Linked DNA regions of Homo sapiens: all the other regions are linked to region 3. Evidence: promoter capture Hi-C in human tissues and cell types (Jung and others, 2019). All regions are on one chromosome and are shown on one strand. Each heading gives the region's core, a stretch centred on a gene start or on the middle of the fragment in contact. The rest is flanking DNA. Distances are from core to core; before and after follow the strand shown.

Region 1 (2,700 bases), core at 117-2,616, 200 kb before region 3:
GGCTTCTTGCTGGCGGGATTGCACTATTTTTATTGCAATTTAGCTCCGTCGTGTGATCCTGAGTGAAAAGCACACTCTAAAAATAAGTAAGTGCTCCTTTTAAAACTCGCCCCTAGGTCGCGTCGCTTGGGGGTGATGTGCTTTCGTTTGGAACGCGGGCGGGGGTGTTCCGCGATGCCAGCGCCACCCCCGGGCCCCACCCGGCTCCCTCTGGCTCTCCAGGCGGCTGCAGCTGTTCCGGTGGCACCAGGTGGCTCAGAGGCCTCCTCGGGAGGGTGCTCTCCGAGGGGCCTTGGAGACCCAGCAAACTGTTTTCCTCCCAACTGTTTTTCATGCTGGGATTTTCTCAAGAAACAGGGCCCTGGGGCGTGGCTCTCAGGGAAGCCTGGGTGGACGGCACGGGGCTGGACTTTGAAATCCTTTTCCAGAGAGTACTTGGAGGGGCCTGACCGGCAGCACGGAAGGGATCCTTTTTTAAGGTCCCTGCCTGGAGACCCCTCTCTGCCCAGCGCACCCCCTGCTCCCTGCATCCAGCTGGGCCCAAGGCCTTAGCGGAAGTTTGGGCACAGCTCGTGGGCGGGAGCTGCAGGCCTGAGGGGAGGTTTGGGCACAGCTCGTGGGCGGGAGCTGCAGGCCCGGGGCGATGTTCCCTGCACCACCATCACGTCCCCAGAGCACTTGCCATGGGCCAGGCCACAGGGAAGTCACTGCATGAATCATTCCGAGGGCACCTCCCAGCCACCCCGGTGGGGCTGCGGCACACGCATAGCCACTTCCCAAGGTGGTCACGGACACATCTGTGGGCGCCCCCAAGTGCTGGGCACCAGGGTGCGGGTTTGGGCACAGGGATGAGGAGGTGGGTGGGCCTCAGGTGGCTGCAGGAGAGGAGGTGGGGCTGACGTCCATGACACCCGCACCCCCCACCCCTAAGGCTGCAGGTTGCCCCCGACTCCAGCAGACCCAGGAGAAGACCCTTCGTGTCCTGACCTCGGTGCGGCCCACTCTGCCAGGGGGACGTCAACCTTGGGACCAGGAACCCATTTTCCCAAAGTATCGACACCCCCAACAGGGAAACTTTCCCCTGCTCTGGCTCTGATCAAACCTGGGAAGAAACCTCTGCCAGCCATGTCCCTCTCATCAGGCCAGGCCAGTGTCTGAGGGCTGGAGAGGGGCACCTTGTCTGAGGCTAGAGACGGGGGTCGCTCTGAGACCCAGCCTGGCTGGACTCTGACCTCTCCAAGCACCTTCAAGCTCGCCCGGCCTGTGATCAGCTGGGCGTGGTCTGGGCTGGGGTGCACGTGGGCACAGATGAGGGGTGGGGGCTGGAGCCAGACGCAGCCCCACCTCAGGCCATGGGATCCTGCTCTGATCCCACTGGGAGACCTGGTGGCTTAAAGGGCCCCACGAGGAGCCTCGCAGGGCAAATCCCCTCCCAGATGCTGCACCCACCCGGTTTCCCTGGGGCGTTCTGCTGACCCGCGCTCCCAGCCCCTGCTGACCTGGGTGGGTCTCAGTCTCCCCCCGACCTGCAGCCAACAGCATGGCGACTGCCTCTTTGGCAAGTGCCTCCTCCTGGGACAGCCCTTCCCCACCCTTCCCCGCCCGGGGCTCTGAGTCTCCCCGGGGACTTGCCTGGGTTGCTGTCATTGCACGTGTTTCATCTCCTGGTGGGGAGGGGTCCAGCACCCACCGCCCTCCCAGACGCACAGCCGGGGTCACCGTGTGGGTCCCGCTGCACCACATGCAGCTCGGGGAGGTGTTATTTCTCTAGCCAGAGAAACGACCAGAGAAATCTGCTGCCGTTGGCTGGTGGCCGCATCACTGTCACCCCATCTCACGTGGCTTCTACCTGTGTCTCCGTATCTCCCACTTCTTATAAGGACAGTTACTGAATTTGAGGTCCCCCCAATCCAGTGTCACCCCATCTTAACCGATAACATCTGCAAGGACTCTGCTTCCAACTAGAGCTCCCCTAGCAGTCCTGGGGGTCGGGATTTCAACATTTCAGGCAGACGAGTCAGCCCAGGACAGACAAAAGGAGCTGTGGCTTCTCCCCAAGTCCCCTGTGCCCCTCTTACACACTTCCCTCTCCAGCCTCGAGGGAGCCTCTTTTTCTCATCTTTCCTTGCAAAAACACACCAAACCAAAAATAGCTGCCTTCCTCTGAATCTCTCATGCTTAAGTCTATTTTTAGTTGAGCCTTGTTTGTTCCAGGCCTCTGTCTGGAGGGGACATTTCGGTTGTGGGGGACTCGAGGCAGCCTCGGTCCCAGCAGTCGTGGGCTCATCTGGTTTCTTGTGTGCACTGAGTCGAAGGGACAGGCACGTGCTGGGAACAGCTGTGTGCACTGCAGGCCTGGGCCCAGCTGCAGACCCAGAAACCTCAGGGCGGGTGAGCTGTTGGATCCCTCAGGTCAGTTCTGTGCTGCGTCTGCATGATGTCAAAATGCCCAGACAGGCTGGTGTGGTGGCTCACGCCTGTAGGTCCAGTGCTTTGTAAGCCCTAGGCAGGAGGATTGCTGGAGGCCAGGAGGGAGTTTAAGACCAGCCTGGGCAGCATAGTGAGGCCCTGTCTCTACAAAAAACAAAATATGAATTAGCTGGGTGTGGCGGCACACGCCTGTAGTCCCAGCTACTCAGGAGGCTGAAGTGGGAAGATCATTTGAGCCCAGGAGGTGGAGGCTGCAGTGAGCCGTGATTG
Region 2 (2,827 bases), core at 270-2,769, 150 kb before region 3:
GTCTGCTTTCGCCTTCTTTGGCCCCTCCCTGCTCTAGAGCCATCCTCCTGGAGTGACAGCCACATGAACGGAACTGGGGTCACCACAGTTCCCTCACCGTGTCCTCAGCCAGAGTGGGAGTCTGTTCTGTGCTCTTGGACTCACTGGAGGAATCAGGGTCGATTGGTGTCAGAACCAGTGGCTGCCTCCACAAACCACAAAATGAGCCCTTAAAACAGTACGACGTGTCGTCTTCCTGTCCTGGAGGTCAGAGCGGGTCTCACTGGGCTAAAATCTTGCTGTCTGCAGGGCTGGCTCCTTCCAGAGCCTCCCGTAGAGAACCTGCTTCCTGCCACCCCACCCTCTGGAGCCGCCCGCATCCCTTGGCTTGTGGCCCCTCCTCCATCCTCACACTGCAGCTCGCTGACCTCTGCTCCCATGGCCTCACTTCCTGCCTCGCTCCTATAAGGAGGAAGGAACATAAATAAAATATATAAATACAGATTACATACAATTAGGTTTATTTTATATGTAAAGAGATTATGGCATAGAATAGAATTATACAGGGATGACCTCCTGGCTCAAGATCCTTAACTCAGTCCCACCTGCAGGGTCCCTGTGCCACGTGGGGGCAGAGTCACGGGGTCTTTAACTCAGTCCCATCTGCAGAGTTCCTGTACCACTTGGGGACAGGGTCACGGGGTCCTGGGATTGGGGCGTGGACACGTTTGGGGGACTGTTGTTGTCCTGCCAACCACAGTTTCTTCGGGTAAGAAAGAGGGGAGCCTCTTGAGGCTTGAGACATGGGGCAGAGATAGCCTCAGCCCTGGAGAACTCAGGGGACACAGGGTGTCCTCTAGGGATCTCGATTAGGATAAGAAGGGGCTGGGCGCCCTGGGGCCACTGTCCAGAGGCCTGTGAGGAGCTCATTCCCTCGACACCAGCAACGAGGCCCCTCCCAACACGGTCCCGCCCATGCCTGGCCCAGCATCCACAGATACACAAACTTCTGGGCATGCCTCCAAAACTGCCAGCAAGTGCAGGCCATCGTCCCTTCCCATGGGAAAGCAAAGGTTATGTGGAAAATATGCTTCTTGTTCGGCCTCCTTGGTCTCTAAGAAAAGCTCGGGCTGCAGGAGAGGTGTGGTTGTTCCTTAGGAAGAAAGACGGAGTGCCCACGGGGCCAGGACCCTCCAGGACCAGGTCTTCCTGTGGTCTCCCCTCCTCCAGGAGCCCCGGAGCCTGGCTCCAGCAAGCCCTTAACCTCCCACAGCCCCTGTTCTGGGTCACCTGCGCCGCCCCTACTGGGCCAGCTGCCCCCACCCTCAGCCCAGCCTTGTGGTCACCAAGCCCGGAAGCCCAGGGAGGTCCGAGCTGCATGGCAGGTGCCTCCTGCAGATTCGGAGAGCGGCTGGGCATGTTTCCTGCCACATCCCCTCCTGACTCTACCCACCCCCACGCCCCAGAGCATAGAGGTCCTCCCTGTGCCCATGTCCCAGTCCAGGTCTCCCAGGGGGATGCAGGAATGAGTTTCTGGAGGGTGTTGGCCAGACTCGGCTTCCTGCACCTTCTGCTGTGCTCCTCCTGAAACACTGACTTGGGCGGGAGCGCAGTGGCGTTCTGTGGGAGGGTGGGGGTGGGGCAGATCCGGGGTTATGTTGTGGCGGAGGTGGGGTTGCCAGGCTGGCCCAGTGCAGAGGAGGGTGTCAGGAAGTGGAACAGGCTGACCCCGTGGGCGTTGAGGCACCGGGCAAGGCATAGGGCCTGTGATTGACAGGAACCCCCAAGTGTTCGATGGGGTCTGACCCGGCCGGGCCGGGTCCACGTGTTATTTGGGTCTAGCGGCCACCAGGCTGAGAGGCCTCAGTCCACAGATGGGGGATCTGAGCTCCCATGCAACATCAGAGGCACACAGCCCACAGTCCCCGAGCGGCCAAGGCTGGCGGGATGGCGGCCACCACATTGAGAGCCGTGGGCCCGGCCAAGACAGGCACAGGCCTGGCGAACCTCTGAGCACTGCAGGAGAGTCAGCACTTCCCAGGAATTTCTATTTTTCAATTTTGCACACTCCAGGGGCTGGCCCAGAGAGACCAGACTGGGAGGTGGCCTCTGCGTGGGCACAGGCCAGGGGTCAGCGGTTGCCTCCTGTTCACACCAGGCCCCTCTTCTGAGTCCTGGGAGGGAGGAACAGAGGGCGGCAGCAATGATCCGTCCACACAGAGAGTGGGCGGGGAGCAGGCCCACCCCGGGGCCAAGACTGTTGGAAGAGGAGTGGTGACATCGGCCAGGAGGAGCGTGTGGCCCCAGGCTCAAGTCCCCGGCATGGCCCAGCGTCCAGCAGGCCTCAGCTGCAGAAGTGCCATCTGCTCCCAGCAGGGTCTGTCCACACTCCTGGAACCCAGGGGAGGTAGGGGCACCACCGCGGGGCTTTCTGAGGGCAGTGCTGCCCTCCCTGCCCCAGCCGCTCTCCCCCAGGGCAGCTCGTGGGCATGTCCCTCTGCCATGGCCTTTCCTGGTAACACCACAGTGGGGCCAGGCAGGGCAGCGGAGTGGCAAAGTCAGAGTCCTCCTTTTCAGGCAGGCTTGCTCCTCTGTCTGCCCTTCACAGGTCAGATTGCGTGGGCAGTGAGTGGCACATGGTGAGGGCTCCTGGGGGGGCAGGGGTGGGAGAAGAGCTGGGGAGGAGGGCACTCAGGGAGCCATTGGCCCCCAATGTCCTGGGAAGCCTGGGGTCTGGATCCTGAGAGCCATGGGGAGCCTCAGAGCAGGGGTCAGCAATGCCTCCAGCAAAGGGCCGGAAAGAATCCAGCTCCGTCTGTAGCCTCCTGGTATGTGCCTGGACACACGA
Region 3 (2,700 bases), core at 149-2,648:
TCGAGCCTGGGAGGGACGTAGTGAAGGCTGCGGCAAGGGCTCCTTTTTAAACATCGAGCCTGGGAGGGACGTAGTGAAGGCGGAGCCACTCAAACCAGCCGCCAGTGAGGAGGCCCTGAATCCCTGGGGAGCTGGCCCTGCCCGGCAGGCCTGGATGAACGTGGGTGGGGGAAGAGGAAGAGAGCAAGGGGCAGGGCCCGCTGAGGGCAGCCCTCCCCTCTAATTGGCGCCTGACAGGGCTGTGATCTGGGCTGCCAGCTTTTCCCATGCAGCCAGCGCTCCCTTCATCTGGGTGCCAACATCCGATGGTGGCACTGCCCCTTTGGGCCTTCCTACAACTCTTCCCAGCACTTCTAGGGTCCTCAGCCCTCATACAGCTGGGAACTGGTGGGGCCAGAAGGTGCCATTACCTTGCCATGGTCAGGGTAGGTACCCTGGGGACTCAGTGCAGGCAGGAGACTGCTCTGGAACCCACAGGGCCTGAGTCTAGGCCCAGGGTCCAGCCACTTAAGGCCTCAGCCCAAGACCCAGAGCCAAGGGGTTCAGCAGTGTGGGGGCTGCTCTCAGGAGCTCCCTGGCAGAGGCCCTCCCCAGCTGACCAATGGCCCGCGGTCACCATCTCGCCCGGTTTCTGAGGCGTCACCTGCCCAGGGAGCCTCCTACAGGCAGCAGTGCTGGTGGCCAGGCGACCTGCCCAGGCCCTGCTTCTCCCCACCACCAAATGCTCCGAGAGCTGAAGCCAGCGGGGAGCTCGTCCTCAGCACACAGCTGGCACGTGGTGGCAGGACCCCCCCCAACCCCGTCCAGCTGCAGGCTCCAGCCCGTGCCCCCTACCTGGCCTCCTGACTGTCCTGGCGCCTGCTTGTCAGGGTCATGCATACACAGGGTGGTTCCACCTGGCGAGGGGTATGCCTCCTGACTGTCCAGGACAATGCCCCTGGCCTGGGGAACATAGCCCTGCCTGGAAGAGCCCCAGGAACACTGGCTGGGATAGGGCACTTGCCAGGTCCGGTCCTGGAATCTCATGGCAGGGAGGAAGGACAGGGCACTCACTTCCTTCCACCTCCCACAAGGAACACAGGGGGCCCCACAGCCAGAGGAGCCCGCCCAGCTCAGCCCTCCCCACCTAGCATCGTCCCACGTGGCAGTATCTCAGCTCCCTCCCCACGGCCCCATCTCCACCGCTCCCACCCCCCCTCCCCTCACCCCCGCCACACCTGGACCACTGGGTGTCCCCGGCCATGTCCCTGCGGGCCTCGTCTGGGGGTGGCTGCATCGGGCTTGGGGTGCTCAGACGGCGTGGGCACAGCTGTGTCCCGGGGCTGCCTCCCAGCCCAGGCTGACCCACCCGGGCAGCACCGCCCAAGTCCACGTGTCAGTCCCAGCGCGCTTCCGTCTGGTTCTCTCAGGACTTGTCGCCCCCAGACGGCCACCAGGGCGGGCAGGCGGGGCAGGGCGGGGCATACCACTCGGGTGCCCGCCCCACCCTGCTGACGTCGGTCCCTGCTGCCCCATAGGAGCGGGGCCAACGGTCGCCCTGGCTGGGTCGCCCTGACTGTCCGACGCGCCCTGGCTCAGCCCCAGCAGAGGTTAGTGTGGGGGCAGAGGGGGATTCCCAGCAGCAGGCCGGTCAGACTGGGGCTTCAGAGAAGGGCCCTGGTGGTAAGCCTGGTCCAAGAGGTGCCAGCCCATCCCTTGGACACGACACGGAGCCATGGGGCCGTCTGTCCTCTGTCTATAAAATGGGGAATGATGGCAGTCCCTGCCTTACCGATCAAATAAAATCAGGGATAAAGTCTTAACCAAGTGCAAAGAGAGTAAAAGTACAGGGTCACTGATTTTTAAAATGGATCTTTCGGGGCAGGGATGGGTCCACTCCTGAGCCCTTGGACCAAGCCTGGGAGAGCTGGACAAATCCAGCGCTGGCCCATGTCTTCTCAGCAGATGCCTGTGAAGGTTGTCATTGGCCCCTGGGTTCCTGGACAAAAGGTGTCCTGAGGACCCATCACAGGCCAGGTTCTGGGCTCGGGGGCAGGGGTGACGGGGTGGGGCCCCCACTCTGTGTGCTCCTGCTGCCATGCCAAGGATGAAGCCAGCAGGGGAAGGCCTCAACCATGCAGCCTTTCCCCAGGAGGCGGCAGGGCCTGCTCCTCAGGCGTTGCCCCCACCTCCACTAGGGCCCACCTCAGTCCATCCTCCACGCAGCAGCCACCACCCAGGGGCCGAGGGAGACACGTCTAAGGCAGGGCCTTGCACTTAGAACAGACCCACATTTACCCCCTCCCTCCCCCTAGCCCTCAGGTCTCCAACAGCCCAACCCACTGCACTGCAGGGCCTGCTCCCAGGGCCCTCTGAACAGAAAGACACGGGCACCCTGAAAAGCAAGGTCATACTTTCATCCATCCTGACGTAGGGTAGGTGAAAAGATGGTGGCAGAGAGAGGTTTATTGCCCCAAACAGCCCTAGCCCATAGCCAGGAAGTTTGGAAACTGTTGCTAAACGTATCGCTGTCAACAGCACCCTCTTTGAGGTGATTCGCTTCCATTCACTCTGTGATGGTGATTTCCTACCGAGATCTGTGATCATGCTGCAGCAGACATTTGCCATCTGGTTACCCAAAGTCCCCTTCCTCCTGGAGCTGATGTTCTGGGGCAGGTAGACAAAAATCAAAGTAGTGAAAGGGGTAGGGAAGGGGTGTTA

The links. Contacts are between HindIII fragments. The study calls those that stand out against the background at their distance.
Region 1: a contact is called between a fragment that was not itself captured here and the fragment with the promoter of SLC17A9 in region 3, in 3 of the 25 tissues and cell types used here (dorsolateral prefrontal cortex, heart left ventricle and lymphoblastoid cells).
Region 2: a fragment that was not itself captured here is called in contact with the fragment with the promoter of SLC17A9 in region 3 in 2 of the 25 tissues and cell types used here (IMR-90 fibroblasts and small bowel).

What each region holds. Positions count from the first base shown.
Region 1 is chr20:63,149,356-63,152,055 of GRCh38, reverse strand. No RefSeq gene overlaps it. Among named protein-coding and RNA genes, the nearest start is that of MIR124-3, 28 kb to the left of the region's middle. The HindIII fragment of the contact is 7,630 bases long and covers 1-2,700 here.
Region 2 is chr20:63,104,423-63,107,249 of GRCh38, reverse strand. No RefSeq gene overlaps it. Among named protein-coding and RNA genes, the nearest start is that of HAR1B, 3.5 kb to the right of the region's middle. The HindIII fragment of the contact is 8,680 bases long and covers 1-2,827 here.
Region 3 is chr20:62,951,407-62,954,106 of GRCh38, reverse strand. It overlaps SLC17A9 (solute carrier family 17 member 9), which reads right to left and starts at 1,398. Exons shown (of 13, transcript NM_022082.4): 1 at 1,218-1,398. The coding sequence starts at 1,276. RefSeq lists silencers at 1,178-1,277, 1,288-1,607 and an enhancer at 1,159-1,988. The HindIII fragment of the contact is 20,012 bases long and covers 1-2,700 here.